Linked DNA regions of Homo sapiens: regions 2, 3, 4, 5, 6 and 7 are each linked to region 1. Evidence: promoter capture Hi-C in 16 types of primary human blood cells and fetal thymus (Javierre and others, 2016). All regions are on one chromosome and are shown on one strand. Each heading gives the region's core, a stretch centred on a gene start or on the middle of the fragment in contact. The rest is flanking DNA. Distances are from core to core; before and after follow the strand shown. Region 1 holds the start of DOCK11 (dedicator of cytokinesis 11). Region 2 overlaps IL13RA1 (interleukin 13 receptor subunit alpha 1). Region 3 overlaps IL13RA1 (interleukin 13 receptor subunit alpha 1). Region 4 has its middle 19 kb from the start of IL13RA1. Region 5 has its middle 36 kb from the start of IL13RA1. Region 6 overlaps DOCK11 (dedicator of cytokinesis 11). Region 7 has its middle 4.0 kb from the start of WDR44.

What was found. The method cuts DNA at HindIII sites, captures the fragments that hold promoters and counts their contacts. A CHiCAGO score of 5 or more calls a contact.
Region 2: a fragment that was not itself captured here is called in contact with the fragment with the promoter of DOCK11 in region 1 in 2 of 17 cell types (neutrophils and monocytes); the score reaches 9.7 in neutrophils.
Region 3: a contact is called between a fragment that was not itself captured here and the fragment with the promoter of DOCK11 in region 1, in 4 of 17 cell types (neutrophils, monocytes, M2 macrophages and 1 more). The highest score is 11.4, in neutrophils.
Region 4: a fragment that was not itself captured here is called in contact with the fragment with the promoter of DOCK11 in region 1 in 1 of 17 cell types (neutrophils); the score reaches 6.8 in neutrophils.
Region 5: a fragment that was not itself captured here is called in contact with the fragment with the promoter of DOCK11 in region 1 in 5 of 17 cell types (total CD8 T cells, neutrophils, naive CD4 T cells and 2 more); the score reaches 7.1 in total CD8 T cells.
Region 6: a fragment that was not itself captured here is called in contact with the fragment with the promoter of DOCK11 in region 1 in 5 of 17 cell types (activated CD4 T cells, naive CD8 T cells, non-activated CD4 T cells and 2 more); the score reaches 7.5 in activated CD4 T cells.
Region 7: a fragment that was not itself captured here is called in contact with the fragment with the promoter of DOCK11 in region 1 in 2 of 17 cell types (fetal thymus and neutrophils); the score reaches 6.2 in fetal thymus.

What each region holds. Positions count from the first base shown.
Region 1 is chrX:118,493,698-118,498,091 of GRCh38, forward strand. DOCK11 (dedicator of cytokinesis 11) reads left to right here and starts at 2,118. Exons shown (of 53, transcript NM_144658.4): 1 at 2,118-2,376. The coding sequence starts at 2,275. RefSeq lists enhancers at 1,456-1,525, 1,928-2,906 and silencers at 1,936-2,075, 2,186-2,265, 2,356-2,415, 2,586-2,645. The HindIII fragment of the contact is 5,195 bases long and covers 1-4,394 here.
Region 2 is chrX:118,744,777-118,749,170 of GRCh38, forward strand. It overlaps IL13RA1 (interleukin 13 receptor subunit alpha 1), which reads left to right. Exons shown (of 11, transcript NM_001560.3): 3 at 2,178-2,316. Among named protein-coding and RNA genes, the nearest start is that of IL13RA1, 19 kb to the left of the region's middle. The HindIII fragment of the contact is 1,325 bases long and covers 1,172-2,496 here.
Region 3 is chrX:118,727,737-118,732,130 of GRCh38, forward strand. The region is part of intron 1 of IL13RA1 (interleukin 13 receptor subunit alpha 1); the gene reads left to right. Among named protein-coding and RNA genes, the nearest start is that of IL13RA1, 2.3 kb to the left of the region's middle. The HindIII fragment of the contact is 2,243 bases long and covers 1,234-3,476 here.
Region 4 is chrX:118,706,830-118,711,223 of GRCh38, forward strand. No RefSeq gene overlaps it. Among named protein-coding and RNA genes, the nearest start is that of IL13RA1, 19 kb to the right of the region's middle. The HindIII fragment of the contact is 7,114 bases long and covers 1-4,394 here.
Region 5 is chrX:118,689,843-118,694,236 of GRCh38, forward strand. No RefSeq gene overlaps it. Among named protein-coding and RNA genes, the nearest start is that of IL13RA1, 36 kb to the right of the region's middle. The HindIII fragment of the contact is 4,246 bases long and covers 1-3,977 here.
Region 6 is chrX:118,665,046-118,669,439 of GRCh38, forward strand. All of the region lies in intron 45 of DOCK11 (dedicator of cytokinesis 11), which reads left to right. Among named protein-coding and RNA genes, the nearest start is that of IL13RA1, 60 kb to the right of the region's middle. The HindIII fragment of the contact is 3,973 bases long and covers 1-3,957 here.
Region 7 is chrX:118,339,881-118,344,274 of GRCh38, forward strand. No RefSeq gene overlaps it. Among named protein-coding and RNA genes, the nearest start is that of WDR44, 4.0 kb to the right of the region's middle. The HindIII fragment of the contact is 2,449 bases long and covers 619-3,067 here.

The DNA of each region.
Region 1 (4,394 bases), core at 868-3,367:
TTTGGCTGAAAGTAACAGAATATTCATCTAAACGTGTCATAAACTGCAGGGGTTTATTTTTCTTACATAAAAAGGAACTAGAGGTAGGCAGTATCAGGCCTGGTTCAACAGTTCAATGCTGTCTGGATTCTACATTGGCTTCTCTGAGATTGCCTTGGCCTTGCCTCATGGTTGCAATATGGCTGCCAAGGGCCAAAGCATTGCAAGAAAACATCCCTCTCAGGAAGAAAGTGGGGCCTGGGCCTCTCTCCTTTTTTTTTCATCAAGGTAGAAAAACTTTCCCAGGAACCCTCCTCTCACACTTCCCTCTTATATCTTATTGGCCCAAACCGATTGGGAGTCTAGACCATCCCACTAGTCAATAAGAGGGAGCTTATCATGGTTTTTTCATCAGTCATGATTCATCACCTGGAGTTGGGCCTGCCTTCCTTAAACCCTGTGGCTCTGCCCTATATCTGAAGTAAATCTGGGCTCTCTTTGCAAGCAAAAAGTGTTATAGCTATTGTGGTGGTAACCAACAGCATGAGCCACACAGGCATTTATGGAACAGAGGGTATGAATTCTTGGAGATCAGCCTACACGCAACAATTAACAAATTTTACACGTACTGTGCAAAACTAAGATTTGTGACAGAATGTCTTTAGAGGACTTCCAGGTCCCAGGCCCTCTAGGAGCCTCCATATATGCTTTATTGAGACTGATGGGATGGCTGAAATAGGCTTACTGCGAAGAGACTTGGCCTTTTCTGGGTTCAAAGAAACCATCACCACGCATGCCCTTGTTTCCATAATAAAGTCCCCTAAAAGACTGTTTGGTCTTTGAGGGTGGGGAAAGTGCCCGATGGGTGGTGGTAGGACTGCTTTCAGAAGGGCTGCTCGGTCCCCCAGACTGAGGGCCATTTTCAAACTCTCAACAAATGAAATAACCAGATAGAAAACTGCCACCATCAGTGGAGCCTTTCACTCTGCACTTCAGGAGGTCTGACAGGGTCACTAGTACTTCAAGATTCCCGTCCCTATTTCTGTCTTAAGCATGTTCGTTTTATACCCTGTTATGAGATGTTCTTTGATTCTTGGAAAAACAATTTCTTGGAAGCTGAAAAGAGTAAGGAGATGAATAGGAAATGGAGAGGTGAGTGCAGGGCACTTGTAAAAGCTACTATAAGATTGGTAAGTCCACCAAACCCAGGGAGATGGCCTTCCTAATGCCCACCCCCACCCCACTCCTGGTGCAGTCAGTGCTGACCTAGGGATCACCTGCCACAGGCTCATCCTAATGCCCACCCCCACCCCACTCCTGGTGCAGTCAGTGCTGACCTAGGGATCACCTGCCACAGGCTCAGGCTCCACCACCCAGCTCTCCCCCGTGGGGGACGGAGCGAGGGGTGCCGCCACAATAAGTTCCCACTTCCAGAAGCATGCTCTCTCCCCAGTGTTGCCCCCTGTTAGGTGAGCCAACTGAGTAGGAAAACGGTGTGGGCGAGGAGGGGGACCCAGTCGAGCCGCTCACGCTGGAAAGCAGCTCTCTGTCCTTCGACATTGGTGCGACCCTTCCCCAAGGAGCACACAAAAGGCGGCTGCTCCACGTTGTTTTCCAGCCCCTAGCCGCCTGGGCCCTGGGGGCTTGCGGGGTGGAGGGACGTGAGAGTTCTCCAGCCCTCCTGCGGGCACTGCAGCTCGGAGGCGGGAGAGGAGCACTAGGGCGGGAGAGGAGCACGCCCCACTCTTGGAGACATTTCATCACCCCTCTCTGTTCCCCCACCCCACCCCGCCCTCCCCACTCAAGCGGAAAAAAAGAAGCAGCCCAGATCTCCCCTCCCGGATGCGGCTGCACCAGCAACATCAGCTGCGGGCGGAGCCCGAGCGGTAGCCACTTCCCCCCTCTTCCCTCGTGACCCTCGCCCCCACCTCCAGTTCTCCCTCCCCCTCTACACACCCTTCCCCATCAGACACACCCTCCTGCTTCGGCTGGTGGCGATCGGAGCTCGGGCCCTCTAGGGGAGGGAGCTGCCGCCGCCGACGCCGTGGGGCAGGACAGTGAGCGGGCGAAGCGAGCGAGAAAAGGAGGGAAGGAGGGAACGAGGGAGGAGCAGCGGGTGGGAGGTGGGAGGGAGGAGCAGCGTGAGCCGCGCCGCCGCCGAGCTGCGATGTGGCCGGCCGGCCGGCGAGTAAACAGAGGGAGCAGCAGCGGCCGCGGCCGCCGCGGGCCGGGGCAGTGAGTCCACCCGCCCGCCGAGGTCCGCCCGCCCGCCGAGACCCGCCCGCCGCCGCTGCCATGGCCGAAGTGCGCAAATTCACCAAACGGCTCAGCAAGCCTGGCACGGCGGCTGAGCTCCGGCAGAGCGTGTCTGAGGCCGTGCGGGGCTCCGTGGTGCTGGTGAGTGGCCGGGGGACGGGGCATCCCGGGGGACGCGCTCCAGGCGGGAGCGACGCGGGAAGGGGCAGGAACGGCGCCAGTGCGGCCGCTTGGTGCGCCGCGCGCTGTCTTTCTCCGCTCCAGTAAGTTTTCGCACCGGCAGCCGCCGGCCGGGGTCCGAGTCCCAGGCGCCGGCTGACAGCTCTCCGGCCGCCCGGCACGGCGGAGGCGTGCGCCGGGATGGAAGCAGACGGGCAAAAGCCGGGCTCGGACGGCTGCGGAGGAGGCGGAGGCGGAGGCTCCCACCCAGGGTCGGGGCCGGGGGTGTGAGCTAAAGAGCTGACCTCGCGCTGCTCTGGACTCGGCACAAAGAGCCGGGGACAAGGGCACGACGAGATCCTGATCCCCTCCCGCGAGCACCTGAGGCCGCCTAGGCGGAAGGATGCGATGAGCGTTTGGCACACACACTCTCGCGCGCACACATACACACACTGTGTACACAAAAAAGAACCCCACCCAGAAAGCCCCGGGCGCCCAAGCTCGGGCTGGCGGTGAGAACAGAGGAAGCAGAGCGACTTCCTCCTGCAACTGGGGAGAGAGGGTGGTGATGGGTGTTGAAGGGGTGCTGCTGCGGAGGAAGGGCATTAGAAACAACGGGGTTCTGCGACAGAGTGGGCGCAGGGTCATCCACCGCAGGGAGAGTGTGTCCCTCGGGGACACGCGAGCGCTCCAGAGGCAAGGGGACCAAGGGGACGGTGCCGTGGGGATTTGGGGGAAGACTGGGTGTGTCAGTCCAGGGATGGAGGACCTGGGGTCAGAGCCCCACAGCTCAGGACTGGGGGATGGGGATTCGAAAGCGCGCTGACTCCCTGGGAACCCTCCCAGAGCACCCTCAGCCTTATCCAGATTGTCTGACTCTGGAGAAAGGCTAAAGGGTGCTAACGGGCACTTGCCCCTTCTCTTGTTTTCAAGACACTCGTTGCCAGTTTCCTGGACAAGCGAACAAACCCTGAATAAGCAATCGGACTGATTAATTAGTGTTTGTTTTGTTACTTTGTTTTTTGGTTGTTGTTTTTGTTTGTTTTTGTCTCCCTCAGCTCCATTTTACAGCGAGTCGTTTGCTGTGTTTAAATTTCACCGTTTAAGAGAGGGCTCTTTTTGTTAAAACAACTTGTCATCGGAAGGGAACTTCACAGCTTTTCCTTGTAATTTTTCTGTTGATCTTGTAGAATCAGCAATAAAACCCAGCATTAAAGGGAGGCCAGGGGCTTGATCCCAACAGTGGAGAAAGTTGACATTAGTGGGAGTTCTGGAGGAGGATCAAAGGTAAACTATGTACCTTTGAGATAAAGATCTGATCCCTAATAGCTACAACTGTGCAAACCTAAGTGACTTTAAAGAAATCTCTTTATTGTGGCTAGACCCTTGAAAGTTTAATTCTGCTGTTTAGTGGAGCTAAATCCAGACCTTTAATGTTACTTTAATGGACTTGGCTTGTGTATTTCAGTCTGATTTTGGAGTGAGGACCTGTTGAGGTCAGATTGGAGCCTTGCCTGTCATCACAGCCAGTTAAGAGAGGAAGGCAAGCTGTGTGCAGAGCATTTATACCAGGGCTCTCATCTTGGGTGATTGTTAACACGTGATTCAATCTACCTAGCAGAGAACGCTTTCCTAAATTCAGAGAAAACAAAAAACCTTCCTTGAGCGGGGTTGGCTGGCCTTCTACCACAACACGTGAAGAAAGCTGTAGGTGGCCAGATTTCTCGAGAATAAATGGGACTAAGAAAACTTCCACTGGGATTTGATCAGCACTTGACCTGCCACCCTAGCAGCAAAAAGTTAACATTAGCATTCTTTCCCCTGTTTTTAGGTTTTCAAAAGAATTTTGTGCATTGTAGGTTCAGCGGCTCCTTCCTGACCATTGATTCTATGGCGAAGGAGGAAAAACTGTTATTGGCAGGAGTCTTTTCTAGGAGACGCTGGCAGTGGCCATGGTTCCCTTGTCAGCCCAGCTTACTTGGGACCAAGGTCATTGATTT
Region 2 (4,394 bases), core at 584-3,083, 250 kb after region 1:
TCTAACTGGAACAATGTCCATTATAATATGAAAACTGGGATTATCTTCATGATGATTCTAATTTGACTGTATTTGACTGTACAGTCTAATTTGACATTTGACTGTACATTTTCCCCTGATGTCTTCAAAGGGCAAATATAGCTTCCAAACAAGAATTGCCATGGATCCTTGGATAAGGGTGGCTTCTTCAAAGATATATGGGACTTGTGCTTAGTAAAATTGTGAGGTTGGTAAAATTTGTATTCGAAGCCTTCCTGCCACCACTACCATGATCCTGGAGGCAGGTCTTCAGCTTCACATACTCAGAAACTTCATTTCCTCAGCACACATGCATCTCTCAGGGGCTGATTTTTTACTTTGTTGTGAAAATGGAATGGTAATGGTGAAGCATTCTAGGAAGATTTCTGTTAGCATAACTGGTGCATTTCATCCCTGTCGGCAGAGCCTATATGGGAAGCCAAATGTTAAGTAGGTTTCTTGGTGAGGAATCAGAAATTAGTTGTAAAAATATACTTGTCTAAGAATAGCTGGAGGCCCTACTGAGAGTAAACAGCTTTGCCAGTGGGACAGAAAAATTCAATGCCCACATTCCTGTATCACCCTCTTTTTCCTGCCTGTCAGGATTTTGCTCACAGACATTTCTTTTTCTGTTCTTCCAGGGCTGACCAACTCCCTTTTCAGAGTACTGTCTTGACTGGACCTAAGAGCTATTCTGGTTCTATAAAGTGATTTTGTTTTTGTGTCCTTGCTATGATTTATTCATTGTTGACTTGGTAGTTACTTCTCAGAGGCCATCCATATGTCCTGGTTTTGGGGGTATCTCACAGTTGCCCTCATGCTCAGCTGGCAGCAGGCATGTGACATGGCAGAATAGCTCTTTAGGGTAGCAGATAGAACTAACTGTGGCAAATTTTCCTCTTCATGGCCGTCAACATGTAGATGAAAGGAAATACTATCTCTGACTTGAGTCAGAAGCTATTGCAAAACAGGAGGTGCTCTCCTTGGAGCTCTGATTAAAAGCAGCTCCATTCTTAATTATTCCAACTCTGTCAGTTTGGGAAATGTTAATTTCCCGGAGAGCCCATTAATCTTATTATTCTCAGTCATAGTAACCAGACTGGTGATTTATGTCTCTATGATGTCTATAAATTGGCTTCCTATGGTTCCACAAAGCTTATCTACTTTTCAGAATGAGAGTGTATATACTCAGCACATATAGCAATGTTTGAAATTTATACATATATATGAGGTAGTCAAAATAGTCAAACAGTAGAGAAAGAGGTTTAATGAAAAGTCTCTCTTCAGCCCTCAGGCCCTCCTCCTTTACTTCCTTACCCAGAAGTAACCATGATTACTGGATTTTTTTTTTGAGACAGGGTCTCACTGCATTGTCCAGGCTAGAGTGCAATCTTGGCTCACTGCAGCCTCCCGCTCCCAGGCTCAAGTGATCCTCCCACCTCAGCCTCATGAGTAGCTGGGACTATAGGCATGAGCCACCATACCTGGCCAATTTTTTTTTGTACAGATGGGGTTTTGCCATTTTGCCCAGGCTGGTCTCGAACTCCTGGGCTTAAGTGATCTGCCTGCCTCAGCCTCCCAAAGTGCTGGGATTATAGGCATGAGCCACTGAGCCTGGCATGATTCCTGGATTCTTAAAGCATCCCTTTTTAACCTTAATTTTCCTGGTACAGTGCATCTACTTCTAAGTGAATTTTGATAATCATATTGTTTCCTTTAAAATTGCTTTTAGAGAGTTGATATGTTAGCATTGTAGGTTTATAGGTAAATTTCATGTTTATACCTTTAAAATGTGGGAAATTGTTGTATCTACACCAGGGTTTCTCAATGGTGACACTAGTGACATTTGCTGAAGGGTTTGTTGTAGGAGGAGGGGGGCTGTTGTGTGCATTGTAGGATGTTTAGCAGCGTCCTTGACCTCTACTTACTAGATGCTGGTAACCTCCCCCTCCCAAGTTAGGACAATAAAAAGTGTTCGATATTACCAAATGTCTCTGAGAGCGGTAGGGAGAACAAAATCAGCCCCAATTGAGAATCACTGATCTATACCATTTGATAACTTTTTTGATAAAAAAAGCACCACATTTAGACATGCTAATGTTTCATTATATAAGTGTGTGTTAGCTGAAGCAATGCCTTTTTCAATTTTCTAACCTTAGAAAATAGCTCCGGAAACTCGTCGTTCAATAGAAGTACCCCTGAATGAGAGGATTTGTCTGCAAGTGGGGTCCCAGTGTAGCACCAATGAGAGTGAGAAGCCTAGCATTTTGGTTGAAAAATGCATCTCACCCCCAGAAGGTAACAACTGAAAGCGCTATCTCTTGGTGTTTAGAGAATAAATCTGAATGCTCCAATGCTTTTGTGCATTGTTCATTAATTAATTCAATTCTCAAACATTTTCTGAGTCTAATAAGTGCCAGGCATTGTACTAGGTGCTAGCAGCTCAATGAAAATATGAGTATGTCTCTGCCTTGAAGAAGCTTACAAACAACTTGAATAACAATGCCTAATAGTTATATAAAATTTAATAATTTAAAAAATGATATACACATGCACGCGCGCGCACACACACACTCACACACACACACACGCACACCCCTCCTTTAGATCGAGAGTCACAAGCTTATCTTGTGAAGTGAGTAAGGCATGTATTATTACCCTGATCCATTTTATGAGGAAGAAAGGAACTGCGTGACTTGCTGTATGTCTTCACATTTCAGGCCCAGTGCTTTAAAAATAAAACACAAAATACTCTCTTACCCATTATGTGTGATACTTAGTTTGATATGCAGGATATATTTGGGAAAAGATGTTGTTTAAAGAGAAAAATATTATGCTGGCCTGGCTCCAATACAAGTCTAGACAAGATAGTACAAGACAACCTTAGGAAAAGCTGTCAAGTAGTGAGGATGATCATTGTTCCCCAATCCCACCTCTCCCAATGTCCTTCTGGCTCTTATGTTACATACAGGGAGTAGCATATACTGATTAAGAGCAGGGCTACCAGAAACCAACTGTCTAACTTTAAATCCCAGCTCTGCCAGCTACTAGCTGTGTAACCTTGGGCAAATTTCTTAGCCCCTCTGCACCTTAGTTTCCTCATCTGTAAACTGGGCATGATGATAGTATCTATCTCCTAGAATTATTGGGATGATTACGTAAGTCAGTATATGTGAGGTACTTAGAATAGTGCCTGGCAAAGAGTGAATGTTGTGTGTGTGTGTGTGTGTGTGTGTGTGTGTGTACACACACAAAAAACATATATATATAACACATATATATACTATATATAATATATATTATATACATTATATGTAATATATATAATATTATATAATATATAATTATATATAATATTATGTTGTCCCTTGGTTGGGTAGGGCTGGGCCCCATCTCTTAACCTCCAGTCCTTAGCTCTATGTGCCCTTTGCTCTAAGCCATTCCATTTACCTGCTTTGTACTGATCACAAACACATGAAGTGCTGTTTGTAAAATTATAAAATTCAGGACTGCCAGGAGATTTGAAACAACTTACCTGCCCTATTCTCCTTTCCTTAGGAGTTAACGAAAAAAAAAAAAAAAAAAACGGCTAGATGCAGTGGCTCACACCTGTAATCCCAGCACTTTGGGAGGCCAAGGTGGGCGAATCACCTAAGGTCAGGAGTTTGAGACCAGCCTGGTCAACATGGAGAAAAATAATAATAATTAGCCAGGTGTGGTGCATGCTTGTAGTCCCAGCTACTCAGGAGGCTGAGGCAGGAGAATCGCTTGAACCTGGGAAGCAGAGGTTGCAGTGAGCCAAGATCACATGACTGCACTCCAGTCTGGGTGACAGAGCAAGACTCTGTCTCAAAAAAATAATAATTACTATACTATGACATAAAATGGTTGATGATGGCTCAGTGTAGTACCCCTTCAAGGATCATGAGGGATAACAGATTTACATTTTAAACAGAGGTGTTTAATTTAAAGACATTATACCTTAACTAAAATGGCTTTATAAAGATAGAGATTTTAGGTCAGAAAGATACTAGGGCTCTTAAAGTCATGACACTTAAGAGGCAACTACTAAGAGTTAAATTAGGCTTACCTTTCCCCAGAATTGCTTCAGGAGGAATGTTTGTTTGTTTGTTTATTTAGAGACAGAGTCTTGTTCTGTTGTCCAGGCTGGAGTGCAGTGGCAAGATCTTGGCTCACTGCAACCTCCACCCCCCTGGTTTAAGCAATTCTTGTGCCTCAGCCTCCCGAGTAGCTGGGACTAAAGATATGTGCCACCACACCTGGCTATTTTTTGTATTTTTAGTAGAGACAGGGTTTTGCCGAGTTGGCCAGGCTGTTCTTGAACTCCTGACCTCAAATGATCCACCCTTGTTGGC
Region 3 (4,394 bases), core at 1,105-3,604, 230 kb after region 1:
CCCTCGGGGCCCGAGGGGCGGCCGGAGGGCTGAGGGCGGTGAGGGTCACGGCTGAAAGGCCCCGGAGGTCAACGCCGGGCGGAGGGCCGAAGCTGGGGTGGGTGCTGGGGGCTGCCCTCGCGAGGCCCCGCGCTCGGCGGCTGCGGCTTCCCGCGCGGGATCTCTGGGGCCCGGTACTGGGGCCGGTTCGAGGTGGGACCCGGGAGCTGCGGGGTTTTCCCGAACTCCGGGTGCGGCGGAGGTGGCGGCAGCGAAGTAAGAGGGCTGCGACTTGTAGTGGGAAGAGCCCAGGAGGCTGGCGTCCAGGCGTGCGGGGGCGGGGGGCCCGAAACATGCCCACGGCGTCAGAGGGCCGTGGGTCAGCGCCCGGAATGTCGCCTGTGAGCCCGGGAGGAAATGAGGCGCCAGAGCCGGCGGGGACCACGACCGAAGTCCAGGCGAGCTGAGAACGCGCCGGGGCTCTTTGCCCGAGGCCGCGCCAATCCTCACTGTCTAAGGGTGGCTCTTGCGAGTGGAAGTTGAAGGGAACCTCTAAACATCTCAGTCCTTGTTGAAAAAGGACGTGACGCTCATGACCTCCTCTGGCGTCGAAGAAATCCTTTGGGAAATCCAGAATAGCATCCCGGCAGATGCTCCCCCCACCCCACTCTCTTTAATAAACCTTATATTTTAGGGTAATTGTAGATTTATGGAAAAGTTGCAAAGATACTTCAGAGAGTTGTGTATATCCCTCACCCTGTTTGGTAACTTCTAGTTAATCAACCTGGCAGTTGTGAAAAATTGGGAGTTAATGACTTCCTTAGGAGCAGCTCCTGGAAGGAATGGCCTTCTGGACGTTTTTGGTGACAATGAAAGCCCCAAACTGTATAGGTTTTATTATCACATTGACACAAACACTTATATATGCTTATTGCATTTTTACCAATGTGCTTTGAAATCCAAGTTGAAATGTTGATTAGGAAACCTTAATGCCCTCTATGGATTCAGTCAATAAAATACATGCTGCCAGGCAGTGTTTAGGGGCTGAGGATGCAGCAGTGAGCAAAACAGATGAGGTGCCTGCCCTCAGACATATCGGGGGGTGGGGGTAAAATATATGATATGTCTGAGGGTGTTAAGTAGAGAAAAACAGAGCAGGTGGGAAGGGGTTTGCCATTGTAAAAAGGGTGGATCGAGAAGAAAACAAATGTTGCTGAAAGGTGGCATTTGAGTAGAGACCTGAGGGAGACTTGAAGCTTGTCAGTCAATAATTATTCAGGTGTCTGCCTTATTTAGTACTGAGTCAGGCCCTCTAGGTTGACTTAGAACCTGAGAGTGTATAGCAAAATTCTTGCCCCAAAAGGGCCTCTAGTTTAGTTGGGTACACCTGATTTCCGTAATCATATGGGGACATTGCAGTCCAGAGAAGGGAAGGAACTTGTCTAAAGTTACCCGTCTCATTAGTCTCCTGATTTTCACAGTGCCACTCCAGCACCCTCCCTCCTACAGACTCACTCCCACACACACCTGAAACAACAGCTGGCCATCTAGAGAATACTGGCAACTCCCAACTTCATCAGTCCTGTCACAATGGTTTGTCGTTAGCTTGCTTATTTAGAAAACAAACTTCTTTCCCCATTAAAAGTATTGATAGAATTGCATTGAGGTATGGTGGGAAAAAATTAGATGTTTCCAGTGAGACTTGAGTTTTAGTGGTTCTGATATTTACCACCTGTGGGACTCTGGGCTGGTCATTTCCTCTCTTTTGTGCTGCAGTTAGTTTTCTCATCTGTGAAATGAGGAGGTTGAACTGCATAAATTCTAAGAGCTCCTCCAGCTCTAATCCTCAGAGTGTTTATAAAAGTGATTAGATTACTAGCTTAGTTTAACCTGTCCCACTCAATGGCCCACATTGTGGCATGTCTTAATTATAACTAGCATGTATATAGCATTTATGCCCAGCAGTTTTCTAGCTGCTTTACTTGTACTATTTCATTTAATCTTTACCAATAATATAACTTGTAGGTGCTGTTATTAGTCCCATTTTGTACACGAAAAAGTTGAGGCACAGTGCGACCAAGACCCTTGCCCAAATTCGCATACCTGGCAAAGTGGAAGAGCTAGGTTTCCAACCCTGGCAGCCTGATTCCAGAGGCCATGCCCTTAACCACTGTACTCATTGCTTCTGCCCAGCAGAAAAGACGAGAGTCCTTAGCTGGACACCTCCCAGGGTAGCAGGGCAGGACGGCTTGGGACCCACGAAAGTATGTGCAAGCCATTTGTTAAGAAGCTAATGATACTATATTAGGCCGGGTGCAGTGGCTCATGCCTGTAATCCCAGCACTTTAGGAGACTGAGGCAGATGGATCACTTGAGGCCAGGAGTTTGAGCCTGGCCAACATGGCAAAACCCCGTCTACTAAAAATACAAAAATTAGCCGAGTGTGGGATTACATGCCTGTAATCCCAGCTACTCAGGAAGCTGAGGCATGAGACTCATTTGATCCTGGGAGGCAGAGGTTGCAGTGAGGGAAGATCAGGCCACTGCACTTCAGCCTGGGCGACAGAGCAAGACTGTCTCAAAACAAAAAAAGAAGCGAATGATACTACATTGGAGACTGGCTTTATAGTGGCTGGGCTGTGTGGTCCAAACAACTAGTACTATAGGCATTCAAAAGAGAAAAAGCTGACGGTTGGTAGTGTTATGGAAGAGGTAAAACTTGAGCTAGATCTTCTGGATGACTGGGATTTGAGTAGGTGGAGAATTTATTCCAGGTGGGGGCAATAGCAGGAGCAGAGACCCAGAAATGAGGGCAAGAGTGCTCCTTTGTGGTCAAGAAGGAACCTGGCTTGGCAGGAGAGTGCATTGGTAAAGTCAATCCAGGCAGAATAGCTTGATTTGCCCTTGAAAGCTCTGAGTCCGGCACAGCATGGGAAAAATAACACAGAAGGAGGAAGCAAGCAGGGAGACTTCACTGGGTAGGGGAGCCCCTGGAGTGTGAAGCTACATAAGAATCTATGGTTGCAGGTCTCCACTAGAAAAATGTGCTGCGAACCCTTCCTGTCCAGGACCATGACTTACTGGTATCTTCCCACCTGGTGGGGCACAACAGAGCATATTTGCATGATTGGGGTAACTAAGAAAGATGTTGGAAGAAAAAAACGAACAGGAGTTGATGCCTGAGTGGATGTAAGGGAAGGGACAGATGACTCATATATGACTCTTGTGATTTCCTTAACTTTTCCCAAAATGTGCATGCCTCTGCTAGCTGCTGTGATTGGACAGGCGAGAGCAAAAGCTATAAGCTAAGCAAAATGCCTTCTTATGAAATAGTAGATTGTGTTAACTCTTAATTTAAATAGGATGTTGTGCTAGATGACTGTACAGACTTGGGATTTGAGGTTTAGATACAGACATACTTGGGTCCCTTCCTACTCCCTTTTCTGAAGTCAGTGGTGCAATCCCCAAGACATGGTTGAAATTAGGTGCCTAAGGGAAGCTTATCAGGTAGAAGGGATACTTGTTCTGTCTCAAAGGCCAGGGACACATATCAATTCAACAGAAAACCAAAGCAACCCTGGCCAGGCACAGTGGTTCACACCTGTAATCCCAGCACTTTGGGAGGCCGAGGTGGGTGGATCACTTGAGGTCAGGAGTTCGAGACCAGCCTGGCCAACATGGCGAAACCCAGTCTCTACTAAAAATACAAAAATTAGCCAGGCGTGGCAGTGCACACCTGTAATCCCAACTACTCGGAAGGCTGAGGCAGGAGAATCGCTTGAACCCAGGAGGCAGAGTTTGCAGTGAGCTAAGATCACACCAGCGCACTCCAGCCTGGGTAACAGAGCGAGACTCCGTCTCCAAAAAAAAAAAAAAAAAGCAACTCTTTAGAATTGTTTTGTCTTAAAGAAATAAAGCAGATAGCTAACACATAGCACTTGCTGCCTGTGGGCACTATTCTAAGCACATTGCTTGTATTAACTCATTTAATCCTCATAATAACCCTTTGCAAGAGGTTACTATTATTATCCTCATATTAGAGATGAGAAAACTGAGAAATAGAGAGGTTAAGTAATTTGCCTGCTGGCAAGTAGTAGAGGTGGGATATAAACTCAGGCAGTCAGGCTCCAGAGTCTGTGCTCTTAAACACTACACTATGTTGAAGTTATACACGAAGAGCTGTTAGAGACCTTTACAAGTAGTATAATCATCACTTAATCATATATATGTCTAGGCATGTTGTATACACACACAGTTCACATGTATTTGTATATATTTAAACATTTGGAGATTAAAGTTTCAGTGCCTGTGTTTTTTTCAATTTTTTATTATAAAATACACATAAAATTTACCATCTTAATCATTTTTAAGTACACAGTTCAGTGTTACGAAATACATTCATAATGCTGTGCAAC
Region 4 (4,394 bases), core at 878-3,377, 210 kb after region 1:
GCCACCTACATGATGACAGTCACCACATCATGGTGACAGCGAGCAAGAGACATTAGGTAAACCACTCTTTGATGTCATTCCTTCTGTGTAAAGGGGAAAAAGAGGAAATCCAATCTAGTTCCTATTTTATTCAATTACTGGAATATAAGAAACATTTCAGGCCGGGCACTGTGGCTCACACCTGTAATCCCAGCACTGTGGGAGTCCAAGGCAGGTGGATCACTTGAGGTCAGGAGTTCCAGACCAGCCTGGCCAACCTGATGAAACTCCGTCTCTACTAAAATACATAAAAATTAGCTGGGCGTGGTGGCGGGTGCCTGTAATCCCAGCTACTCGGGAGGCTGAGACAGGAGAATTGCTTGAACCCAGGAGGCAGAGGTTCCAGTGAGCTGAGATTACACTACTGCACTCCAGCCTGGGTGACAGAGTGAGATTCTGTCTCAAAAAAAAAAAAAAGGAACATTTCAAATTTGTGATTGTTTCCTTTTTCTATGGTGTCTAATCAGTTTCTTTTATTTACTTATTGTTCTACTTTTTAAATGTTTTTGTGGGGATGAGAGTCTTGCCATGTTGCCCAGAACTGTTCTCGAACTCCTGGGCTCAGGTGATCCTCCCACCTCGGCCTCCCAAAGTGCTGGGATTTATGGGCATGAGCCACCATGCCCAGCCAGTCAATGTCTTAATAAAACATCTTCTGCCTGATTTTCGACAGGATGATTGTTATCTACTTATCTTTCAATTTAAAATTACTGGCCGGGTGCAGTGGCTCACACCTGTAACCCCAGCACTTTCGGAGGCCAAGGCAGGCGGATCACTTGAGGTCAGGAGTTCAAGACCAGCCATGGTGAAATCCCATCTCTACAAAAATGCAAAAAAAATTAGCTGGGTGTGGTGGCACATACCTGTAGTCCCAGTTACTCGGGAGGCTGAGGTGGGAGGATCACCTGAGCATAGGAGGTCGAGGCTGCAGTGAGCCAAGATCGCACCACTGCACTCCAGCCTGGGTGACAGAGGTAGACTCCGTCTCAAAGAAATAATAATAATAAAATAAAATTACCTTTCTCTTCATTACAAAAGTGAGCTATGACAGCAAAACTTGCTCAATGAATAACACAAAAACCCTTTCCACAACAAACACCTAGAAATGTAAAATATAACAACATCACAAATAGCTATTTAATATCATCTCCCCTTTCCTCAAACCTTGTTTCCTCTTCTGCATCTCACTGTCAGCAAATGATCTTCTTTCTCATTGCACTGAAAAAAAAACTGGAATCAGAAGAGAGTATCCTCCTCCCACTGCCAAATCTACCAACCTCCCTGCTGCCTTTCCTGATCTCATCCAATCTCATGGTCATATATATAGGCTTATGGCTCCCAAATTTGAGTTTCCAACCCAGATTTCTCTAATCTCAAAAATATTATGCCTGGCCAGGTACAGTAACTCTCGTCTGTAATCCCAGTACTTTGGGAGGCTGAGGCGGGTGGATCACTTGAGGTTAAGAGCTCGAGACCAGCCTGGCCACACGGCGAAATCCCGTCTCTACTAGAAACGCAAAAATTAACTGGGCGTGGTGGCTCACACCTGTAATTCCAGCTACTTGGGAGGCTGAGGCACGAGAATCACTTGAACCCGTGAGGCAGAGGTTGCAGTGAGCTGAGACTGCACCATTGCACTCCAGCCTGGGTGACAGAGTAATACTCTGTCTCAAAAAAAAAAATTATGCCCAGTTGTATTATGACCTTTCCCATTGCATATCTCAAATTTAACCTGGCCAGAACAGTACCCTCAATCTACCCCACAAGCCTGTTCTTTTCCCAGAATTCCCCATCTCGGTAAATGGTGTCACCACTCAATTAATTGCTCAGACCAGAAACCTAGGAGTTGAGTCAGCCTCTCTCTTTCTCTCATACCTTGTATCTAATCCTTCACTAAATATTTGTGTCTCTCCCTTCAAAATATACTTTTTATCTCATGCCTAGCTAACCACAATAGCCTTCTAACTTATCTTCCTGTATCCACTCTTTACTACCTTAGAGTCTATTCTCAACTCAACAGCCAAAGTGATCCTTTTAAAACATAATGCAGGCTGGGCACAGTGGCTCACACCTGTAATCCCAGCACCTTGAGAGGCCAAGCTGGGCAGATTGATTGAGCCCAGCAGTTCCAGACCAGCCTAGACAACATGGTGAGACTCCATCTCTACACACACGTGCACACACACACACACACACAATATATATATATATATACACACACATACACTATATATATACACACTATATATAGTGTATATATATACACTATATATATACTATATACATACACTATATATATACTATATACATACACTATATATACTATATACATACACTATATATACTATATATACACTGTATATACTATGTATACACTATACACTATATATACTATATATACACTATATATACTATATATACACACTATATATACTATATACACACTATATATACTATATATACACACTATATATACACTATATATATACACTATATATACACTATATATATACACTATATATACTATATATACACACTATATAGTGTGTATATATATATACACACTATATATGTGTGTATATATATATACACACATATATATGTGTGTGTATATATATATACACACACACACTATATATATATATATAAAATTAGCCAGGCATGTTGATATGTGTGTAGTCCCAGCTACTTGGGAGGCTGAGGTGGGAGGAGTGCTTGAGGCCAGGAGGCGGAGGTTATAGTAAGCTGAGATCGCATCACTGCACTGCAGCCTGGACCACAGAACTAGACCCTATCTCAAGTTTTAAAAAACCAACAACACATAAGGCAGGTTAAGTCATGCCTTTGTCCAAATCCTCCAATGGCTTCTCTTCTCATTCCAAGTAATCGCAAAAGACTATGAAGCCCTGGCTAATCTGGCACTTTGCTGCCTCTGGAGAAGAGCTGCTATCCCTCTCCCACTCCACTCCAGTCACTCAGGCCTCCTTATTGACCTTTGTACACACCACGTCCACTTCCACCTCGGACCATTTGTAGTTGCTGTTATCTCCACTTAGAATGCTCTTGCCCAAAATGATACCATAGCTTTCTTCCTCATTTTAGGTCTCGACTCACGTGTCACCTCATCACAGAGGCCTTCCCTGAAAAAAAAATAACCACTCACCCCACTCCCGGGACCCCCCCATCCCCTTAACCTGCTTTATTTTTCTCCATACCAGTTCACACCCTCTGACATCATAGTATTACATTTTCTGGATTATGGTCTGTTTCCCCCAAATAGAATGTAAGCTCAATAAGGGTAGGACTTTCATCTTGTTCACTGCTGTATCTTCAGCTCCTAAAACAGTTTCCAGCACATAGTAGATGCTCAATAAATATTTGTTGAATGAATGGATAAATGAAAGGCACAACTGAGTGCAAGAAAAATAGAGTCCAGAAAGGATGAAGGAAATGAAAACTAGAGGGACATGCAGGTGAACTGTGATCTAGTGATTCGAGATTCAACCCCTGTGGCCAAGACTATTAGTTCTGCTCTTTCTTTTCCTTTCTTTCTTTTTATTTCTCCCTTCCTTTCTTCCTATTTTTTTTTTTTTTTTTTTTTTTGAGATGGAGTCTCACTCTGTCACCCAGGCTGGAGTGCAGTGGCGCGATCTCAGCTCACTGCAAGCTCCACCTCCTGGGTTCAGGCCATTCTCCTGCCTCAGCCTTCCGAGTAGCTGGGACTATAAGCGTGTGCCACCACGCCCGGCTAATTTTTTGTATTTTTAGTAGAGATGGGGCTTCACCGCGTTAGCCAGGATGGTCTGGATCTCCTGACCTCGTGATCCGCCCGCCTCAGCCTCCCAAAGTGCTGGGATTACAGGCGTGAGCCACTGCGTCTGGCCTGTTTCTCTCTTTCTCTCCCTCTCTTCTTTCTTTCTCTCTCTCTTTCTGCTTTCCTTTTCTTTCTTTCTCTCTCTTTCTTTTTGAGACAGAGTCTCACTCTGTCACCCAGTGGCGCGATCTCAGCTCACTGCAAGCTCTGCCTTCTGGGTTCAAGCAATTCTCCTGCCTCAGCCTCCGGAGTAGCTGGGATTACAGGCATACGCCACCATGCCTGGCTCATTTTAGTATTTTTAGTAGAGACAGGGTTTTGCCATGTTGGCCAGGCTGGTCTCAAACTCCTGGCCGCAGGTGATCTGCCTGACTTGTCCTCCCAAAGTGCTGGGATTACAGGTGTGAGCCACTGCACCCAGCCCAAGACTATTAGTTATTTTCTAACACCCATTCTCCTCTACGTCCACAGAAATAGAACTACTAATTTTTAACTGCATACATGGCTACCCAGAGTAATGACCACTGTGACTAACCTCTCA
Region 5 (4,394 bases), core at 605-3,104, 200 kb after region 1:
GTGGTAGTAATGTCCTTGGAACCTTGACCAACAACACATCATCCTAGAACTAGAGATGACTCTAATTAAGAAACTAGATAAGTCATGATAATAAGAACGCACATTTTTAAAAAACTATTTCGTATCTTTTTTTCTTCTAACTTTTAGGTTCAGGGGGTACATGTGCAGGTTTGTTCCATGAGATATTAGCTTTCTCTGAGATGAAGAACCTGAGTGATATAATGGATTAATAGGAATTTCCAAACTCTTCAAAACATTGATAATTAGACATATGTCTTGGGCTTCTGATCTCCAAAATGTTGGGCTACCTTTAGTCTCAGTCTTGTTCTAACAGTACACTAGTTCAGCTATCAAAAGACAAGGAGAGGAAAGGAGTAAAAGTTGGTTGTGGGTGGGGAGTGGGTTTGTGTAACAAGGCTATACCCCTGTCTTGGGAGTTGGTGAGTAAGAGTGCTTTATTTATCTTTTTTTTTTTTTTCTAAGCACTTAATGGTCACTGTCTAAAAACAGTGTATCTATGTTTGTTCATCTCCTAATGGGAGTCGTGGCTAAGTTCTAAGATTTTGCCTCTGTGCATAGCATTTTAAAACTTTTCCAATGTTCTTTTTTTTTGCTTTGTTTTTCCTTTTTATTGAGATATAATTCACATACCATACAATTTACCCATTTAAAGTACACAATTCAGTGTTTTTTAAAATTACATCCACAGAGTTGTGCAAGTATCACTACAATTTAAAACATGTTTATCACCTGAAAGAGACCCCATACTCATTAGCAGTCACTCCTACCGGTCATCATCCTCCAGCCCCTGGCAACCACTAATCTACTTTTTGTCCCTACAAGGTTTACCTGTTCTGGACATTTCATATAAATGCAGTCATACAATATGTGGCCTTTTGTGTCCAGCTTCTTTGACATAGCATATTTCCAAAGTTCATCGATGTTGTAGAATGTATCAGTACTTCATTCCTTTTTATGGCTAAATAATAATCCATTATATAGATACACCATATTTTATCTTCTCATCAGTTGATGGACATTTGGGTTATTTCCACTTTTTGGCTACTGTGAATAATGTTGCTGTGAACACTCACAAGTTTTTGTGTGGACATGTTTTTAGTTCTCTTGGGCATGTACACAGAAGTGGAATGACTGGTTCATATGGTAACTCCATGTTTAACCTTTTGAAGAATTGCCAGACTGATTTCCACGGCAGCTGCACCACTTTATATTACCACCAGCAATGTATGAGGGTCCCAGTTTCTCAATATTCTTGACAACACTTGTTATTATCTGCCTCTTTGATTATTGCCATCCTAGCAAGTGTGTAGTATCTCTTTGTGGTTTTCATTTGAATTTCCCTGATGTCTAATGATGTTGAGAATTCTTTCATGTGGTTACTGGCCATTTTTGTATCTTCCTCAGAGAAATATCTCTTTTAAGTCCTTAGACCATTTGCTTTTTTGAGACAGGGTCTTGCTGTGTTGCCCAGGCTGGAGTGCAGTGGTGCGATCTCAGCTCACTGCAACCTTCCCATCCCGGGCTCAAGCGATCCTCCCTTTTCAGCTTCCCAAGTAGCTGGGACTACAGATGAACACCACCACACCTGGCTAATTTCTGTAGAATTGGGGTTTCGCCATGTTTCCCAGGCTGGTCCCGAATTCCTGGCCTCAAGCAATCCACCCACCTTGGCCTCCCAAAGTGCTGGGATTACAGGTATAAGTCACCGTTCCCAGCCCCTTAGCCCATTTTTAAATCAGGTTGCTTTACTATTATTACTATTATTGTTGAGTTGCAGGGTTCTTTATTCGAGATGCAAGTATATGATTTAAACATATTTCTCCTGTTCTGTGTGTTGCCTTTTCACTTTCATGATGGTGTTCTTTGAAGCATTCAAGTTTTTAAAAATTTTGATGCAGTCCAATTTATATTTTCTTTTGTTGCCTGTGCTTTGGCATTGTATCTAAGAAGACCTTGCGTAATCCAATTTCACAGAAATTTACACCTATGTTTTCTCTTAAGAGTTTTATAATCTTAACTCTTACTTTTGGTCTTTGGTCCATTTTGAGCTAATTTTGTATATGGTGTGTTGTAGGGATTCAGATTCATTCTTTTGCATGTGGATAACCAGTTTTCCCTGCACCATTTGTTGAAAAGAATCTTTCCCCCATCCAATTGCCTTGGCACCCTTATAAAAAATCAATTGACCAAAAATATGTGGGTTTATTCTGGACTCTTAGTTCTATTCTATTGACCTCTGTATCTGTCCTTACGCTAGTGCCACAAAGTCTTAATTACTATAGCTTTGTAGTAAGATTTTGAAATTTGGAAGTGTGAGTCCTCCAACTTTATTCTTTTTCAAAATTGTTTTGTATATTCTAGGCCCCTCGCATTTCCATTTTTATTTTATTTTATCTTATTTTTTTGAGACGGAGTCTCACTCTGTCCTCCAGGCTGGAGTATAGTTGCACGATCTCGGGTCACTGCAACCTCCACCTCTTGGGTTCAAGTGATTCTCCTGCCTCAGCCTCCTGAGTAGCTGGGATTACAGGAACATGCCACCATGCCTGGTTAATTTTTGTATTTTTGGTAGTGGTGGGATTTCACCATGTTGGCCAGGCTGGTCTCGAACTCTTGACCTCAAGTGATCCACCCTCCTCGGCCTCTCAAAGTACTAGGATTACAGGCATGAGCCACACGCCCAGGCCCATATTAATTTTAGCATCAGCTAGTCAATAGCTGTTTAAAAAAAAAAAAAAAAAAAAAAGGCAGGCTGGGCGCAGTGGCTCACGCCTGTAATCCCAGCACTTTGGGAGGCCGAGGTGGGTGGATCACGAGGTCAGGAGATGGAGACCATCCTGGCTAACAGGGGGAAACCTCGTCTCTACTAAAAATACAAAAAAAATTAGCCGGGCGTGGTGGCAGGTGCCTGTAGTCCCAGCTACTCGGGAGACTGAGGCAGGAAAATGGCGTGAAGGTGGGAGGCGGAGTTTACAGTGAGCCGAGATTGCACCACTGTACTCCAGCCTGGGCAACAAAGCAAGACTCCATCTCAAAAAAAAAAAAAAAAAAAAAAATGGCCGCTGGGATTTTGGCAGGATTTGCTGTGAATCTGTAATTCAATGTGCAGAGTATTGCCATCTCAATAATAATAAGTGTTCCAGCCCCCATGAAATAGGATGTTTTTCTATTTATTTAGATCATCTTTAATTTCTTTCAACAATGTTTTACAGTTTTCAGTATATAAGTCTTACACTTCTTTTGTTTATTCCTTATGCCCACAAGGAAGTTTATTCCTTAGTATTTTATCCTTTTTAATGCTATTGTAAATGGATTTGTTTTCTTTTCTTTTCTATTTATTTATTTATTTATTTATTTAGTGAGATGGAGTTTCGCTGCTGTGGCCCAAGCTGGAGTGCAATGGCGCGATCTTAGCTCACTGCAACCTCTGCCTCCCGGGTTCAAGCGATTCTCCTGCCTCAGCCTCCCAAGTAGCTGGGATTACAGGCCCATGGCACCACACCTGGCTAATTTTTTTGTATTTTTAGTAGAAACGGGGTTTCACCATGTTAGCCAGGCTGGTCTCAAACTCCTGACCTCACGTGATCCAGCTGCCTCAGCCTCCCAAAGTGCTGGGATTACAGGCATGAGCCACTGCGCCCGGCCTGATTTGTTTTCTTAATTTTATTTTTGGATTGTTCATTGCTAGTTTATAGAAATACAAATGGTCTTTGTATATTGATCTGATATCCCAAAATCTTGCTGAATTTCTGTATTAGCTTTAATCGTGTTTTTGGTGGCTTCTTTAGGTTTTTCTATACATAAGATCATATCATCTGCAGATATAGTTTTACTTCTTTTTAAATCTTGATGTCTTTTATTTTATTTTGTTACCTAGAACCTAGCTAGAACTTCCTGTATAATATTGAGTAGCAGAATTGCAGATAGCCTTGTCTTGTTCCTGATCTTTGGGAGAAAGCTTTCAGTCTTTCACCTTTCAGTATGGTGTTACCTGTGGGTTTTTTATGGATGCTTTTTATCTGGTTCAGGAAGTTTCCTCCAACATGTTTTGCATCTATTTTCTGATCCAATTCTCCTTATATATGTCATATAGGAATCAATTCTTCATGTGATCCTGTATCACATATAAGGAAATGGATGCATAAATGGTTAAGAAATGCACTCAAGACACGCAGGAAATTAGAGATGAGGTCACGGTATCCTGATTTATAGTCTATTGTTTTCAACTCTACTTTTTCCTTTGGTCTTCTGCTTCAACTTCTTGCAACTTTCTAGAGACTAAAAAGGGTTCATCTTTTCCACTTTTTCATTTAAAAGGTAACCTCCATATGGGTAGAGTCTGGATCTGAACTTTTCCACCTCTGTTTTCCCAG
Region 6 (4,394 bases), core at 721-3,220, 170 kb after region 1:
TCTACATAGTCTGTCTCCCTATCAGTAAAATAAGGACAATAATACTATCGTGGTCACTTCACAATACATGCGAAAACTTAAAAAGTCATGAAGTGTGAGAATAATGTCAGGTTTTATCATTGACCTACTTGGCAGTGAGATTTCTTAAAAGCAAGTTGGTGTCCTTTTACCCTCAGAACCTACAAGGATAGATACTTAAAATATGTTTGTTGAATTGATTGATCATAACAGAGATGCAAGATACTTGAATTTTTATTCCAGCTTAATTTTTGACTGTATAGCCTTGGACAAGTTAATTCATGTTTCTGGATATTAGTTAGATGATTTCCCAGAGACCTGCAGGTTTTACAGGCTGACAGCAGGAAGATTCAGAGGATTTCATGGGGCTTAACTGGTTCAGTACAACTGAACTTATATCCTTGCCTTCTAAACAGCAGCTTCAGTGTATTCATAGAAATGGCTTTGAGCTTGACCCTTTTTTATACTCTTAAGGAGAGCAATAACTTTTCTTAATAATCAAAAACTGTAATTAGTTTTCTGTATAAACACATTTGTTGGAAATCTTTTGGGTTCTACAAGTAATTTATACATACTTCTATTTGATATATACAGGTAGAATCATGTTTTACCAAGTGCCACTTTATTTTTCAGTTTGCATAATAAGGCTTCTTCCTTAAACCCTAGCCAATTAAAAAAACTGACACTGATTTAGAAGTTACATTGAAATGAAAAATACAAACAGTTGTCCATTTAGTGCTTGTATTTAAATATGTGAGTTAAACCGGTAATAACGCAATGTAACTTGTTTCCAAAAATGTATTTCTGACTTGATTTGCAACAGTTTTTTTTTTCTGCATGACACCACCTCAGGAGGTCCTGATGACGTGTGCCCCTGCAATCGATTTTAAACATATAATTAATATATAATTGGGCTGGGCGTGGTGGCTCACACCTGTAATTCCAGCAGTTTGGGAGGCCAAGGCAGGCAGATCACTTGAGGCCAGGAGTTCAAGACCAGCCTGTCCCCATGGTGAAACCCCGTCTCCACTAAAAATATAAAAATTAGCCGAGCGTGGTGGCACAGGCCTGTAATCCCAGCTATTCAGGAGGCTGAGGCACAAGAATCTCTTGAACCCCAGGGGCAGAGGTTGCAGTGAGCCAAGATCGTGCCACTGCACTGCAGCCTGGGCAACAGAACGAGACTGTGTCTCAAAAATAAAAATAAAAATGATATAATTAATATGTAATAAAATCTTAAACAATTTGATGAATTTTGACAGTTGTATACACCCATGTAACCTACCATCAGAAACAAAAAATAGAACATGCCCATTCCTTCGGGAAAGGTTCCCTTGTGCCCATTTCCAGTCAGGCTCCCCACCTCCACCATCTGATTTCTATCACCATGAATTAGTTTTTATGGCATAAAAATGGAATCAATCATTCAATATGTACCTTTTTTTAATCTGGCTTCTCTTGTTTAACCTAATGTTTTTGAGATTCATCCATATTGTTGGGTATATCAAAAGTTTGTTCTTTGTCTTTATATACAAATTTTAAATCCATTCAGTTGATGGATTTTGAATTGTTTCCAGTTTCAGGCTGTTACGAATAAGTCTACTTTAAACATTCCTATCTATGACTTATTGTTGACATATGCTTTTTTTCTCTTGGGTAAATACCTAGGAGTAGCATTGCTGAATCCTAGGGAAGATATATGTTTAACTTTTAAGAAATTTCCGAAGAGTTTCTCAAAGTGGTTGGACCGTTTTATACTGTTTGCCAGTAGTAGATGAGAGTTCTAGTTGCCCCACATCCTCCCTAGCATCTGATATTGCTGATCTTTTTAAATTTTAGCCATTCTATTAATATTAGGTGTGAATCAACATCTCATTGTGGCTTTTATTTGTATTTCCCTAATAACCGATGATGTCTACCACTTTTTCAGGTGTTCCTTGGCCTCTTTTGTATTTTCTTTTGTGAAATGTTTGTCTTTTATCCGTTTTAGAAATCACATTGCTTACTTTTTATTGTTGTTTTGTGGGAGTTCTTTCCTGGATATAAATCCTTTGTCAAGATATATGTGCTGTATATTTCTTTACCAGCTTCTGACTTGACCATTCACTTTCTTAATTGAGTCTGTGGTTGAGCAGAAAATTTTGGTTTTGGTTGTAATTGATGAAATCCAGTTTATTATTTTATAATAATTTGTTCTTTTTGTATCTGGTCCCAAAAATCTGTGCCTACCTCAAGATCCTGATAGTGTTGTCCTGTGTTTTCTCCTAGAAACTTGTTTCCGAGTTTTGTTTAGGTCTATAATATATTTAAAGTTCATTTGTGGAATGAAATAGAGGTCAAAGCTCTTTTTTTAAGACAGTTTTTTTTTTTTTTAAGACGTACCATTTGGGGAAAAACAAGACTTTCCTTTTGTCACGTTGAATTTACTTTGGCACCTTGGTCAAAAGTTCGGTTTTTCATATTTGTGTGGGCTATTTCTGGATTCTCGGTTCTCTTCCACTGATCTATTTGCCCATCTTGATGCCAATATCACACTTGATTACTATAACTTAAGTCTTGAAATCAAGTAGTGTTAGCCCTCCAGCTTTATTCTTTTTCAAAGTTGTTTTGGCTATTCTACGTCCTTTGAATTTCCATATAATCTTTAGAATCATCTTTTCTACTTCCTCAAAATAGCCTGAGAATGGAGAGTTTAACAATATTGAATTTCTCAATCAATGGACATTTATCTGGGTTATCTTTAACTGCCAATAATATTTTGTAGTTGTTAGGGTAGAAGTCTTGGGTTAGATTTACTGGTAGATATGTGATGTTTTGATGCTATTGTAAATAATATTGTTTGCTTTTATATTTTTATTTTTTATTATGTTGTTGCTAGTATATAGAAATATAATTGATTTTGTATGTTGATCTTACGTCCTGCAACCTTACTAAATCTGCTTATTAGTTTTCATAGTTTGTATGTCTTTTATGATTTTCTACATATACAATTATGCCATATGCACGGAACAATTTTACTTTTTCTAATCCTGTATGCTTTTTCTCTTTCTCTTGCCTTATTGTACTGGCTAGAACCTTCAGCATAATGTTGGATAGAAGTGGTGAGAGCAGACATTCTAACTTGTTCTCAATCTTAGGAGAAACATGTCTAGCCTTTAAGGTTTTTAGTAAATGCCCCTTATCAGATTGAGGAAGATCTCTTCTATTCTTTGTTTCTTGAGTTCTTTTTAAATATCATGAATGGGTGTTGAGTGTTGTAAATGCTTTTTTCTTGCATCTATTGAAAGAGATATAATTTTTCTTTTTTATTCAGTTTATGAGGTTGTATATTACATTGTTTTTTTTTTCTAATTGTAACCTAACTTTACATTCCTGGGATAATTCATACTAAGTGTGCACCTTATTTTTAATTCCCCCAATGTTTGTCCCAAAATTGCTGGAAATTTTAATTTGGCTAGCAGATGTTAATATACAGATGTTTTATTCAAGTAGCAACATTTATTTCACATATACTATCCAGTGACACTAAAATAATTACTGGAAAAGCCAATGTAAGTAAAATATTGTCCCTACTCTCAAAGAATCACAGCCTATTGGAAAAGTCAGATATGTAGATAATACGTAAATAATGTACAAATATAGTGATAAATCTTTGCCAAAAAAGTAGTGAAATAGAAAAAAAGATGTGTAGTGTCTTGCCTACCCTATATTGATAAGGAGAAGGATCCTGGAAAAGGTGATACCTAAAGTGTTTTAAAGAGATTAACCAAGTAGAAGGGATTAAAGGGAGGAGGGGCACAGCCTGAACAAAGACATAAAGCTAAGACACACCATTGTGCTTCAGGGAAACTGCTAGTAGTTCGCTGTTGTTATAACATAAAGTACAAAGTTTGGTATGATGAATGATGAGATTATGGAAGTATCAGCCACATCATTGCAAGCTTTATGTGCCACATGAAGGAGCGTGTCCGTTGTTCTGTGAGTGATGCGGAGCCATTGCCAGATTTTAAGAAAGGGAGAGTGGCACGCTCAGGTTTGCATTTTAATCAGAACCCTATGGCAGATGTGTGGAAGATGTATTTGAAAGGGCTAAGACTGGAGGCAGGAAGATAAATTAAGAAAAAACAATAGTGAAATTTTGCACCTTAGCAATGAGAGAAATGGAGAGAAAGGGTCAGATTTGAGAAATATTTAGGAAATAAAACTGGCAGGACTTGGTGATGAACTCATTAGAGAATGAGTAAAGAAAGAGGGTGTAATAGTTGCGTAGATATCTGAGCCTATTTGGGCTTCTATAACAAAATACCAGAGACTGGGTAGGTTATAAACAACAGAAATGTATTTTTCACTATACTGGAAGCTGAGTAGGTGAAGAT
Region 7 (4,394 bases), core at 593-3,092, 150 kb before region 1:
AAAGGTTTTGTATGGACTTAGTAACCAGAATCATAACCAGTGGATGAAAATTACAGAAATGTAGATTTGGGCCAAATAAAATGAAGAAATCTGCTAACATTAGAGGTTATCAAAAAATTGATTGGATAAATACTAAACTCCATGTCCTTGAATGACCATTTACTGGTGAAGTTTGTAGAAGGAATTCATCTATGAGATATGAGGCTTGGACTGATGACCTTTAAAGTTCCTTCTCACCTCCAGATACCATCACATTGGGGATTAGGTTTCAACATATGAATTTTGAGAGAACACAAACAGTCTATAGCACCAGAAAATTCTAGTTGTTGCTGTTGAGTGTGTGTGTGTATGTGTATATTAGCCTGGTGACTGACATTTCTATATAAATATTTGCCTTTAGATTGAGTTTCAAGCATTTAAAAAAAATAAAGATGCCATGGGTGGTAGATAAAAGACATCTTCTCCAGTTTGTGACCCAGAATAATTTTTTTGAAGGATGAAGTTCATATGCCTTTATTCATTTCTCTTTAGATCACGCCATATATACTCAATGTGTTGAAAAACAAAATTATGCTTAGTCCATATTGTTAGAAGTATACCTCCAACCTTGCTCCAAAAAGCTTCCGATCTGTTTCACAGATTCACCATTTCTAGTTGCTTTAGAAATTACCATTACTTATTCTCTTTATGTGTCAGGCTTGCAGTGCAGAAAATATGACTTTCTACTGGTAGACTAATTGCATTTCAAGATTTGCTTTGTGGGTATTTTTTCAAAGTTCAGCTTCTTGGTGGTATTTACTGAAGTGTTCCAGAAACCATCTTACCTACAATAGGCCCAGGACTCATAGTTATGCACTATGTAGGAAATGAATTTTAGATCTTAATTTTGTATGTAAATCTACCTTGTATATGATAGGTTATATATTTTCTTTTAATAATTTCCCCTTATTTATAAGGTAATACATATTCGCTGTAGAAAATCATTACACAAAGGTACAAATAAGGCACAAACCTCCTATTATTATTATTTTAATCAGCAACAAAAGATGCTCGCCGTAAATCCTTTGTGAATATTTTTCCAGAATTCTCCATACACAGAGGTATACACATGTGCATAGATAAATGACTGACATGAATGGGATTATTCTATACACAGTATTCTGTAACATCTGTTTTCATTTAACACTTTATGAGCTCTTTTCATGTCAATGTATATAGAGACTTACCCCTTAATAACTTATATAAACATGTTGCTACTGTCTGCTAGTATCCTTTTGTTTGTCTGTTTGTTTTGCTAGTATCCTTTCCTTGAAAAAACATCCACTGAATATTCTATGCAGTCCTAGTAAGGAAGATAATCACAGTAGTCTCTCCTGATTTGGCGAGTGGCAAGCAATCAGCTGACCCAGGCCTGAACAAATGAGAGTTCTGTATGCTCCTAGCTAGATGGGCCTCCTAAAACCAATCAACATCCTCTCTGAGATTTAATATATAAACACTGACAGAGAAAGTCTCACTTCCTTTGGGACTGAGAGTTATTAAGACATTATAAGCTAAAGTTCCTTGCAGCCATCTTCACTAACTACAAGAAGGAAGTTGTTTGCAGTAGGAAAATTGAAGCCAAAACACAAAAAGAAGCAGATGGACAGAAAGAGAGAGCGTATTGATATATCTTGGGCCCTGGATCCAGCCATACCTGAAGCTACCACATCTGGACTACAGTCAGTTCTGCTATAAAGGGGCATGAGCATTCCTAAAAATCACTCTGCTATGCAAAATTGTTCAATAAAAACCACAAGGCTTATGGGGAAAATGGGGTAGGGGCACAACATTCAAAAATTTCATCAGTGATATATACACAAAAAGATATGAACCTAATAAAAATGGCAGCACAGTTTTACACATGTAAAATGATTAGGAAATACATAAATGCTACAGTAAAGATGGTACTTTACTTTGAAAAAGACCTGAAATTTGCTTGTGGAAGTAGGTATCAGAAGGGTTGCAGGTTGTAGACCAGGTACAGTGGCTCACGCCTGTAATCCCAACACTTTGGGAGGCCAAGGCAAGAGGATCACTTGAGGCCAGGAGTTCAAGACCAGCCTGGGCAACACAGTGAGTAATATTTAATCTTTTCCTGTCAACATTATGTCTCAAATCACCTAACACTGTACATAAAAAATTATTTTTCCTGAGTTATCACTTTAGCTCTTGCTTGTAACAAAAGGCTACATGCATTAGGATGTACTTGGAACACTGATGTTCTGAGTGACTGGTTACCCTTGGGGTTGCGGCAAAATTAGCCTCAAGGATGTTGCCAGTTTGTATTATTCTTGCCAAGAGGAGAGAATGAACATCCCACAGATAAGTTGTTCCATACAGTGGCTGTGACCTCTAGTCTTTGGAGAGTAGAGTATTTGCTATGCAGATAAGGAATTTAGTTAAGCATAAAAATTTTCCTTAAACCCACCTTACCCTTAGATGTATGAAATTTTAATAGTCATTGGGAATGAGCCAGGTAGGGAAGGTTTTATTCTTATTTTTATCTACACACATGATTTTGCAGCATCATATGATCTGCTGAAACCATTTAATTTGAGGGTATTTTTAGTTCTGAGGTACCCTAGAAAATAGTATCTTATGGACCAAGGATCTGAAAATTTTTCTGTAAAAACGGCCTGATAGTAAATATCTTAGGCTTAGGCTTTGTGGGTCACACAGTCTCTGTCCCAGCTACTCAACTCTGCCATGATAGCGGCCATGTGCAATATATAAACAAATAGTCCTGGCTATGTTCCAACAATATGTTATTTACAAAAACAGAGAGTGGGACAGATTTGTCCAGTGGACCATAATTTGCCAACCTCTGCTTTGGACCAATAGTTTTTCATTTGTTCTTTTTTTTTATCGGGCCTTAGGACAGTCTCCGGAGATTCAAGGAAGGTCAAACAGACAGGGACCTCAACTTTGAAACCCTGTTTCAAATAGAGCAGTTTTTATTTGTATACTATATCGACTTTTGCATAAAATTAAGTTTGATTAAGGTTCCATTTCTAATACAGAGAAAAGCTTCAAAACCACTGCCTTGGATGATACCTAAAATCTGCTGCTTTAAAACTCAAGAACTGATATTTCAGGCAAAATAAACACATCTTTTACATCTTTAAAAGTGATGATGGGGCCGGGCGCGGTGGCTCACGCCTGTAATCCCAGCACTTTGGGAGGCCGAGGCGGACGGATCAAGAGGTCAGGAGATCGAGACCATCCTGGCTAACACGGTGAAACCCCGTCTCTACTAAAAATACAAAAAAATTAGCCGGTCGTGGTGGCTAGCACCTGTAGTCCCAGTTACTCGGGAGGCTGAGGCAGGAGAATGGCGTGAACCCGGGAGGCGGAGCTTGCAGTGAGCAGAGATCGAGCCACTGCACTCCAGCCTGGGCGACAGAGCGAGACTCCATCTCAAAAAAAAAAAAAACAAAAAAAAGTGACGATGGGCAGTATTTATATGTGTTTTAACGTTTCCAGCAATTCATTCTAGCAATTGGCTTTCTCATGCAATTGATAAAAGCATTTAAACGGAAACTTTAAAAGCTCTAAAAATGTTACCAGTTTATCATTCCTATCCATTTTACCTTTTTCTAAGTATAATGTTTAAGGCAGCTTAAAAGGTCCAAGAGAGCTGATATGGTATATTGAAAAAAAACAGAGCACCAAACTAGGACTCCGTATTTGTCTCCACTGCTAGATTATTAGCTTTTTGTAGGCAGAAACTTAAGTTGTCTTTTTCTGTTTTGTTTTTGTTGTTGTTGTTGTTGTTGTTTTTGAGACAGAGTCTCCCTCTGTCGCCCAGGCTGGAATGCAGCGGCGGGATCTCAGCTCACTGCAACCTCCGCCTCCCAGGTTCAAGCAATTCTCCTACCTCAGCCTCCCGAGTAGCTGGGACAACAGGCAAGTGCCACCACGCCCCCCTAACTTTTGTATTTTTAGTAGAGACAGGATTTTGCCATGTTGGCCAGACTGGTCTCGAACTCCTGACCTCAAGTGATCTGCGCACCTCGGCCTTCCAAAGTGTTAGGATTACAGGTGTGAGCCACCGCGCCGGATCTAGTTGTCTTTTTAATCTGTCAATTGTCCTCAGCATCTAGAACGCTTCATGACACCAAATTGTATATGTTTACTGAACTGAGCGACTGGTTTCCACACACGGCATTTTGTTTTTGTTGTTGCTGTTGTTTTTTGTGTGTGTGTGTGAGAGACAGGGTGTGGCTCTGCTGCCCAGTCTGGAGTGTAGTGGTGCTATCTCAGCTCACTGTAGCCTCAACCTCCTGGGCTCAAGCGATTCTCCCACCTCAGCCTCCACAGTAGTTGAGACCATAGGCACATGCCACCACACC